2 separate regions of the Homo sapiens genome follow, and region 2 is linked to region 1. Evidence: promoter capture Hi-C in human tissues and cell types (Jung and others, 2019). All regions are on one chromosome and are shown on one strand. The core of a region is centred on a gene start or on the middle of the fragment in contact, and the rest is flanking DNA. Distances in the headings are between cores, read along the strand shown.

The links. Contacts are between HindIII fragments. The study calls those that stand out against the background at their distance.
Region 2: a fragment that was not itself captured here is called in contact with the fragment with the promoter of NEK3 in region 1 in 1 of the 25 tissues and cell types used here (mesenchymal stem cells).

Annotation. Positions count from the first base shown.
Region 1 is chr13:52,157,397-52,162,332 of GRCh38, reverse strand. NEK3 (NIMA related kinase 3) reads left to right here and starts at 2,736. Exons shown (of 16, transcript NM_002498.3): 1 at 2,736-2,790. RefSeq lists silencers at 745-1,039, 2,800-2,859, 2,940-3,049. The HindIII fragment of the contact is 9,103 bases long and covers 1-4,936 here.
Region 2 is chr13:52,216,825-52,221,760 of GRCh38, reverse strand. It overlaps the pseudogene TPTE2P2. Among named protein-coding and RNA genes, the nearest start is that of NEK3, 60 kb to the right of the region's middle. The HindIII fragment of the contact is 3,910 bases long and covers 888-4,797 here.

The DNA of each region.
Region 1 (4,936 bases), core at 1,487-3,986:
TATTTGGAAATAGGGTTGTTAAGGATATAATTAGTTAAGATGAGGCCACACTGGGGTAGGATGGTCCCTCAATCTGATATGACTGGTGTCCTTATACAAGGGGAAATTTAGACTCAGAGACAGTACACATAAAGGAAAGGCAATGTGGGGGAGAAGAAGGCCATCTACAAGTCAAGTACAGAAGCCTGGAACAGATCTTTTCGTTCCAGCCCTCAGAAGAAACCAACACTGTCAACACCTTTATTTTGGACCTCTAGCCTCCAGAAGTATGAGATAATAAATTTGATTAAACCATTCATTTAGCTTGTGGGACTCTGTTACAGCAGCCCTGGCAAACTAATACACCGATGGAACAAGGGAAAGAATCCCTTTCATGACTGCCATCATTGGGTGGGAAAGAAAAGCATTAAGCACCTTTGTCATCTTCTCCCCTGATGCTGTCACAAATTTAATCTGATAGAAATCTGTCTTTTGCTCAGTTCTCAAGAGCAGCATTCTGAGTACAGGCATGGGCAGTATTTTTTTTTTTTTTTTTTTAGACAGAGTTTCGCTCTATCACCCAGGCTGGAGTGCAGTGGCACGATCTTGGTTCACTGCAACCTCCGCCTCCCAGGTTCAAATGATTCTTATGCCTCAGCCTCCCGAGTAGTTGGGGTTACAGGCGCCACCCACCATGCCCAGCTAATTTTTGTATTTTTAGTAGAGACAGGGTTTCACCATGTAGGCCAGGCTGGTCACGAACTCCTGACCTCAGGTGATCTGCCTACCTCGGCCTCCCAAAGTGCTGGGATTACAGGCCTGAGCCATCGTGCCTGGCCTTCTTTGTTTTTAATTGAAACTAGTCTTTGTATAGAGTACAAAGAAAGCAGTGCAGATGTTGTAAATGTTGATTTGTAGCATTTCCCTTCTCTTATCACCACACTACAGAATAGTTGTACATTAACTTTGACATTGTGGAAGGAAGGCAATTGGAGCTGGCCAGAGCAAAGCCATTTTGTTCCTGAATGCCATTTTACAACTGCCTGACTGCAGAATGTACTTGCTGATGTTGCAGACAAAATTGCTGCCATTATGAAAAGGACTTCATGCTGAGGACTGAACTTTTCTCAAACCCCTGAATCAAGGACTTTTGCCTAGAAACCAATGAACTGTCATGATAACGCTTTATCTTCAATCAAAATAGTGGGTTACGAAGGTTATGGATGAACTAGTGAGAACTGACTTCTTACTTCCTTTAAAAACCCTACCCAAAAATAGCTGGTCAGGACACAATTCAAATGCTTCTGGAATCTGTGTTCCTTGAACTGCAATTCTCAGACTGCCAATAAACTTCTTTACTTGGATTTCGGTCTCTCTGACTCTGGTTGACACGTTATAATGAACACGTTCAGCGCTTACAAGTAAAGGGTAACCAGATGTTGTTCACAGTAATCCTATGAGGTAGGTTCTATACTTTTATACAGAGGGATTTAGTTACTCTGCTGTATTAGTTTCCTAAGGCTTCTGTAACAAACTGTGACAACCTAAGTGGCTAAAACGACACGAATTTATTACCTTACAGTTCTGAAGTTCAGAAATACAGCTCACTGGGTTAAAATCAAGGCGTCAGTGTGCATGGTGGTTTTCCTGTAGTCCCAGCCACTCAGGAGGCTGAGGTGGGCGGATCGCTTGAGCCCGGGAGCTCAAAACCAGTCTTGGCAACATAGCAAGACCCTGTTTCAAAAAACAAAAAAATCAAGGGGTCAGCTGGACTGTTACTTCTGGAAGCTCTGGGGAACAATTTGGTTTTTGTTTTTTGTTTTTCCCTCCTTTTCTAGCTTCTCCTCCTTTTCCACCTCCCACCTCCTCCTTTATATATATATATATATATATATATATATTTTTTTTTTTTTTTGGAGACAGGTTCTTGCTCTGTCACCAAAGCTGGACTGCAGTGGTGGGATCATGAGCCCTCTCCAGCTCTAGTGATCCTCCTGCCCCAATCCCCCGAGCAGCTGGGACCACAGTGCCCGTCGCTATGTCTAGTTAATTTTTCGTAGAGACGAGTGTCTCACTATGTTGCCCAGGCTGATCTCGAACTCCTGGGCTAAAGTGTTCCTCTCCTGCCTCTGCCTTCCAAAGCACTGGGATTGCAAACATGAGACACTGTGCCTGCTCCTCTTCCAGCTTCTTGAGGCCAGCTGCATTCCTTGGCTGTTGCCCCTTCCTCCACCTTCAAATAGCTTTCTCATACTGACCTTCTTTTTGGGCCCCTTCCACTTTAGAGAACCCTTGTAATTACTTTGTAATTACCCAAGCACACACTCCAAGATCGTCACCTTATTTTAAAGTCCGCTGATAAGCAACCTTAATTCCATCTGCAATCTTAACCCCCTCTGCCAAGCAAGAGAACAAACGCACAGGTTCCAGGGAGTAGGATGTGGACATCCTGAGGCGGAAGCATTATCCCGCCTTCCACAATTGCCCAAGGTCACATAGCTAGTAAGTTCTAGCTAGCACTGAGTGCTGTGCCCGTGAAATTTATCTACATAGGCTTTCACTTAACCTGCAGACAGAACTCAGTTAGTCGGGGACAATTTCCCTCAATGTTAACAGCACTGTTCCACCGCAACGTGGAACAACAGCTTTAAAACGTGCTCTTCGTAGGCCCGGCTACTCCAAGAACAGTGCCTCCCGCCAGACCCAGGCGGCTTCCTTCACCCGCAACCCGAGAGACGACCCGCCGGGCCCGCCCCGCGGAAGCCGCCGGTTGCCAGGCCAAGGAGTGGACTAGGGTCGCCGGGGAAGCGGGTGAGTGGTCCCCGCCCTGGCGGGCTGCCTCTAGAACGAGGAGGGCGGCGCGTGGTCGCGGCGCGGAGCCGAGTGGGAGCGAGGGGTAGACGCGCCCCGGACGCGCGGCCGCGCCCCTCACTTCCGCCCCGCGGTCTGGACCACTCGCCGCAAACCCGCAAGTCCCTCGCCGCCTTGGGGTCTGGGCGCGCGGTGCCGTGGGGGTCAGCAGGGCGGAGCGGCTTTTCCAGGAGAAAGGGCCCTCACGGGTGAGCGGGGCGACTGGGCTCCCCCGCGGTGCAGTTGCCCCGCGGGCGCCGGCCCCGGCTCAACGGATTCTTCTCGCTCGCTGCCCGGAAAGAACCAGTGAGAACCGCTGTTGCAGCAAAAAAAGAAGTTAATAAGCGCAGGGCTGGCCAAACCAGAACAGGGTCTCAGACCTGTCTCCCCGAGAATTCGGGGGCGAGGGTTTTAAAGGGCATTTTGGCTTCGGGGGGCTGGGGAACTGAAACAGTTGACCGGCTGGGGATGAAATCACAAGAGCTTCTGAAACTCGGGGCGGCTTCGTTGGTTCCCAGGAAGGGGTGGGGTCAGTTTCCCTTGTCTTGAAGTTTACACGAAATCCCTCTCCCAGTTATCCTAGCCTCTGTGCTAGAATAAGAAAACGACAACACGGTGAAAACTTAGCCCGTGAGGTTAGAAGCAAGATGGAGTCAGTCATGTTAGATTTCTCGCATTACTTATACATCTGTAAAGGTGGTTTCAGGGACCTTTCTGAACTTAGCCCGTATCTCACTGGTGATCCCACTTCTGGGTATTTGCAAATCACTTTATTAGGTTTTTAAAAGTATTGTTGCAGGCATGCGAAGGGGCCGATATACTTTTGCCATGTCCAGAGTGTATTCAGGTCTTGTAATGATCATATGGGTGTAATATTGAGTAACAGGCAAATGTGGGCAGAAAATATCAAATGTGGTTTTCAGCTAAGAAGTCTGGTTGCTCTTAATTTTCAGTTACTCTCCATTGCATAGAATAAAGCCCCGAAGAAACGAAGAATAAGATCATGGGGAAACTTGGCTTCCATGTTAAACCGTGTAATACCAGGTGTTAGAATAGTAGTAAAGGACTTGTTTCTTTCACATCTATATACACTCAAAAGACCTCATCGATCTTGGAAAAACATTGTTTCGAAGACAATGTGTATGACTGATTTGGTTATATGAAGAAATTATTTCTAGGATTTCCTGGTAATTCTGTGATAAACAGTAATACAAACTGGAATTTTTACAGGTCACTATAGTAGAGGTTTTAGTTTGATTTTTGCTTTGCCTGTCATGCTCTCTCTGCCTTATAATTCTTTGTGGTGTAATTAAAAAACGAACACTAGGGCCGGACGGGGTGGCTCACGCCTGTAATCCCAGCACTTTGGGAGGCCGAGGCGGGCGGATCATCTGAGGTCGGGAGTTCGAGCCCAGCCTGACCAACATGGAGAAACCGCGTCTCTACTAAAAATACAAAATTAGCCGGGCGTGGTGGCGCATGCCTGTAATCCCAGCTACTCGGGAGGCTGAGGCAGGAGAATCACTTGAACCTGGGAGGTGGAGGTTGCGGTGAGCCGAGATCGCACCATTGCACTCCAGCCTGGGCAACAGGAGCGAGACTCCGTCTCAAAATAAAAAACAAACACTGTAAGCTTTTTGAAAAATCAAGTAAATTCATTACAGTGTTTTTCCTGCAATGAAAAAGAATGCATCACTTCCCTAAGGTTTTAATAATCATAATAGCTGCCAGTTATTCAGGACCTTGTATGTACCAGGCAAAGTGTTAGGAACGTTTTATCCATTTTCTCTTATGTGCTAAGCAGTCCCGCTAGCTGCTTCATCCTGGAAATATAGATGGGAGACTGAAGTCAAGGACTCCAACTGTGTGTTTAACATCTCTCTTGACTCCCAGGAACCTCCAGTTTGGCATGTCCAAAATGAAACACATGTCTGTCTTCTATCAATATGTTTTGCCCAACCCCTGCAACACTCCCACTTCCAGAAAAATCACACAAACAAAAAACCACACACACAACCATTGTGCCTTTCCTCTCTCAGGGAGTGCCAAGAAACCATCTGGTTCATGCCAGAAACTTGGGAGTCAACCTTGCCCCCTTCTCTGCTTG
Region 2 (4,936 bases), core at 1,593-4,092, 59 kb before region 1:
ACACATCTTTAATACAAAATAACGGGTATGGATATAATATCAACCCATAGAAACAACCTAATCTTCAATGTCTATGTATAAGATGTAATGGCAAGTCTTTTGCTGGTTGTCATAAGCTTAATTTATAGAAAACAAAAAATCCTTGAGCCACCATTGTTCATTGCCTTACTCCTTTTACGTTGGCTATTTTAAAAATACAGTTGTTCTTGAGACCCCCAGTTGCAGTATCCTCAAGGTCCATGCCATAGGACTGTGTTATGAGCTCAAAAGTATTATAATCAGATCTTAAGTGTGGAAGTAAATTCCTCCCAGAGAAGTTCAATATGAATCTGCTCAGTACCTTCAACATGTCAGGTCCTCAGTAGGTGCTGATTTACCAATGACGAACCACCACCAAATTTTGTGCTAAAGTAAGGGAGGACCTAGGGAAGCTTCAGCTAGCTGAAAAGCTGACTGACACACTTATATCTAGGAGAAGTTACAAGACACAGTAAGTATTAAGAAATACAGCTAAAAAATCATTAAAATTGGTAGTCTCCCATTTAAACATGGGTTTCTAATAACTGAATTGGGAAAACTTTCTTAAAAACTATTAATTGGAGGCTGGGTGTGGTGGCTCATGCCTGTAATCCTAGCACTTTGGGAGGCTGAGGCGGGCGGATCACCTAAGGTTGGAAGTTCGAGACTAGCCTGGCCAACATGGTAAAACTCCGTCTCTACTAAAAATACAAAAATCAGCCAGGCGTGGTGGCACATGCCTGTAATCCCAGCTACTCAGGAGGCTGAGCCAGTAGAATCGCTTGAACCCAGGAGGCAGATTGCAGTGAGCCGAGATCGCACCACTACACTCCAGCCTGGGCGACAGAGTGAGACTCTGTCTAAAGAAAAAAGCAAAAAAACAGAACAACTATTACTTGGATTTGGAGATTATTGTTCCCAGAAAACCTTCTGCCATATTTGGAAACTTATTTCTCAGTCTAGAAGTTCTCCACTTTAAGTAGCATTTGTTCTGTGCTGGTGAAAAACTGAGATTTTTTTGTATTAACCATACTCTTCAATACAAAAAGAGAAAATATTTTTAAAATGCTTCAGGTCACAGTTGAGGCAGTTGCTATGATTGCATGTGGCATGAATTGGTAGTTATTGTTACAACCAGTTCTAGTCTTTTCTTCAAATCTGAGCTGGATCTAATAACTCCTTAAGTCCAGCAAGGCAACAGTAAATTAAACCTCTGGTCTACACACTTGCAATACATACACATTTAATAGATTTTGATAGAGTGAACTTTGGATTGGATGGAAATTTTTTAAAAATTTGTTTCTTGGATGCATACAAACAATAAGCTTTGACTCCTAACATGAGCAAAGTCCCTCAATTGTGAGAGCTGGGTGGAGCTTCATTTGTTGCTGCTCCTCAAATTGATTCTTGGTAAAGGATACAGATTTTTCCTTTGAAACACCATGTTCATTTTGGGGAAGCAATAAGTTAGATCACCTTTATTTTCACTTTTATATAAATTTCTAAAGATTTCTGTAATATTTAAATTTATATACTATTGGTAAAGCTGTTTTTCTTAGTTGTGAAATTGTTGTTTAGCCAAAAATGCCAACTTCTGTCTTTTAGAACACTAGGCATAAATGGGTTAACCAATTTATGCCTAGTGTTCCATTATTGGAATGCTAAGCATGTGGGATTTATTTATATCCTACTGCTCAAGGTCATCGCCAAGGGCTGATTGCAAAAATTCAAAAAATTGCAACCTCAGGCATAAATTAAAAGAGATATAGTATTTTATTATTGGGTTTTGATACATGTCTAATCAGACTGATTTCTGTCACATATAGAAATTTAGATACTGTATTAAACCTAGATGTCATTAATTCCATAAAAAGCAACGTTAAAAGAATCAGTAGCATGTGTTACTGATGTGTTGCTGAAGATTAAGATATTTTTAAGTCTCACCGAAAAGGTAGAAGGAGCCAACTGAGACACAAAAAGGGGCTGAGGTTCTATTCATGGTGAGCAAGTCTTTTTTTTGTTTGTTTCTTCAAGCTCTAACAAGGGTGCCTACTACATGGCTTTTCAGTTAGCCCCAAAATAAAATGTAACAATTTTTTTTTCTATTCTTAGGCTTTATCTACAAAGAAATGAATTGGATAATCTTCATAAACAAAAAACATGGAAAATTTATCAACCAGAATATGCAGTAGAGATATATTTTAATGAGAAATGACTTAAGTTATGTTGTAACTGGTAGCTGATTAAGTATAGTTCCCTGCACCCCTTCTGGGAAAGAATTATGTTCTTTCTAACCCTGCCACATAGTTATATGTTCTAAATCTTCCTTGCTGGTACATCTATATTGATATATGTATACACATGTTCTTTATAAATCTATTAAATATATACAGATAAAATGTCAGGTTTTTTTTCTTTTTGAAGGCATATATTTCACAGTTTCCATCTTGTATTTACATACATTTGGAACACAGTACTTAGGAACATTAGGCGTCATTTTGAAGAACTTTGAAATAGAACTTTCGTATCAAAATAATTGAGAGATAATTAAAAATTGTGATCCCCCAACACCCACTTACTTATACATTTTTGGTCAGGTATTTATTCCCTGCTTTTTTTCACATTTGTAATTTCAGGTTTATTAGAAAGCTAATTTATATTTTTCCTTCTACTCGATTTACAAACTGTTAACAGATTGGCAGCAAAGACTAAGTTTTAAACCCAGAAGAGAGAAATATTTCACACAAGCAGTCCCCCAACTCCCAACACACACTTTTCTCTTGTTCCAAGCACTAAATGGGTAGCTTACTTAACAAGCTTCCTTTAATTACACACAGACATGGGGGTTGGGGTAAGAAGGGCGTAGTAAATATGAAGGAGAAGTAACCTTCAGTAACTTCTGCTTTTGTATAAAATTGTAAGTGAAGTCAAAAGAAATATTTGTTCTTAGAGTAATTTAGGTGTATTATTTTGAAATCCACTACTCCTGCTCACAACCAATGTCACCTAAGCCCTGGGGGAACTCTGAAGGGAGGTAATCTTTTCAGTGTAAACAGTGTTTAGCCCTGTGTCCACAGGGAATCATTATTATTTCCTCATTGGTGCTGGATGCTACTTTTTTATTAAACACTTTCTTTTTTTTTTTGAGACAGTCTCACTCTGTCACCCAGGCTGGAGTGCAGTGGCACGATCTCGGCTCACTGCAACCTCTACCTCCTAGGTTCAAGTGATTCTCCTACCTCAGTCTCCTGAGTAGCTGGGATTACAGGTGCGTGCCACCACACCTGGCTAATTAAACAAAATTTTTTATTTTTATTTTGTACTTTTTGAGACGTGGTCTCACTCTGGTTGCCAAGACTGGAGTGCAGTAGTAGGATCTTGGCTCACTGCAGCCTCAACCTCCTGGGCTCAGGTGATTCTCTCACCTCAGCCTCCCCAGTAGCTGGGACTATACGTGCATGCCACCATGCTTGGCTAATTTTTGTATTTTTAGTAGAGATGGGGTTTCACCATGTTGGCCAGGCTGGTCTTGAACTCCTGACCTCCAGTGATCCACCCGTCTCGGCCTCCCAAAGTGTTGGAATTACAGGCATGTGCCACCATGTCTGGCCACTTTTATACCATTAGCAAAATGCAGAGTAGTGGAAGAGGTTGTCTGAACCAGATTTGAGGAGGTGAAGGATCAGAAATGTCTGAGAAAATGCAAGGGAACCCACCTTTCTTTTTCTTTTTTTTTTTTTAAACAGAGTCTCTGTCGCCTAGGCTGGAGTGCAGTGTTGTAATCTTGGCTCACTGCAACCTCCGTCTCCCAGGTATAGGTGATTCTTTTGCCTCAGCTTCCCAAGTAGCTGGGATTATAGGTGCCTGCCACCACGCCAAGCTAATTTTTGTATTTTTAGTAGAGATGGGGTTTCACCATGTTGGCCATGCTAATCTCAAACTCCTGACCACAGGTGATCCACTTGCCTTGGCCTCCCAAAGTGCTGGGATTGCAGGTGTGAACCACCATGCCCAGCCAGGTGAAATCATTTCAATACAAATTCTAAACAGAAGAAAAAGATTGAACTGAAACCACCCTACAACATCCCCAGAACCTACACTAGGGTTAGTGTCATGATAACTGCCAGTGGTTAGTGTTTACCATCTCCCCCTGGACCTGAAAGGAGCCCTTAAAGCTTTATCAAAATGCAAAAGAAGGCTTACAAAAAATGTTTAAGAATTGTATATGGCTAGCCAGTTTTCCCAACACCATTTATTAAATAGGGAATCTTCTCCCCATTGCTTGTTTGTGTCAGGTTTGTCAAAGATCAGATGGTTGTAGATGTGTGGTGTTATTTCTGAGGCCCCTGTTCTGCTCCATTGGTCTATATATCTGTTTTGGTACCAGTACCATGCTGTTTTGTTTGCTGTAGCTTTGTAGTATAGTTTGAAGTCTGGTAGCATGATGCCTCCAGCTTTGTACTTCTTGCCCAGGATTGTCTTGTCTATGTGGGCTCTTTTTTGGTTCCATATGAAGTTTAAGGTAGTTTTTTCCAAGTCTGTGAAGAAAGTCAGTGGTAGCTTGATGGGGATAGCATTGAGTCTATAAATTACTTCGGGCAATATGGCCATTTTCACGATATTGATTCTTCCTATCCATGAGCATAGAATGTTTTTCCATTTGTTTGTGTCCTTTCTTATTTCCTTGAGCAGTGGTTTGTAGTTCTCCTTGAAGAGCTCGTTCACATCCCTTGTAAGTTGTATTCCTAGGTATTTTATTCTCTTAGTAACAATTGTGAATGGGAGTTCACTCATGATTTGGCTCTCTGTTTGTCTATTATTGGTGTATAGGAATGCTTATGATTTTTGCACATTGATTTTGTACCCTGAGAGTTTGCTGAAGTTGCTTATCAGCTTAAGGAGATTTTGGGCTGAGACG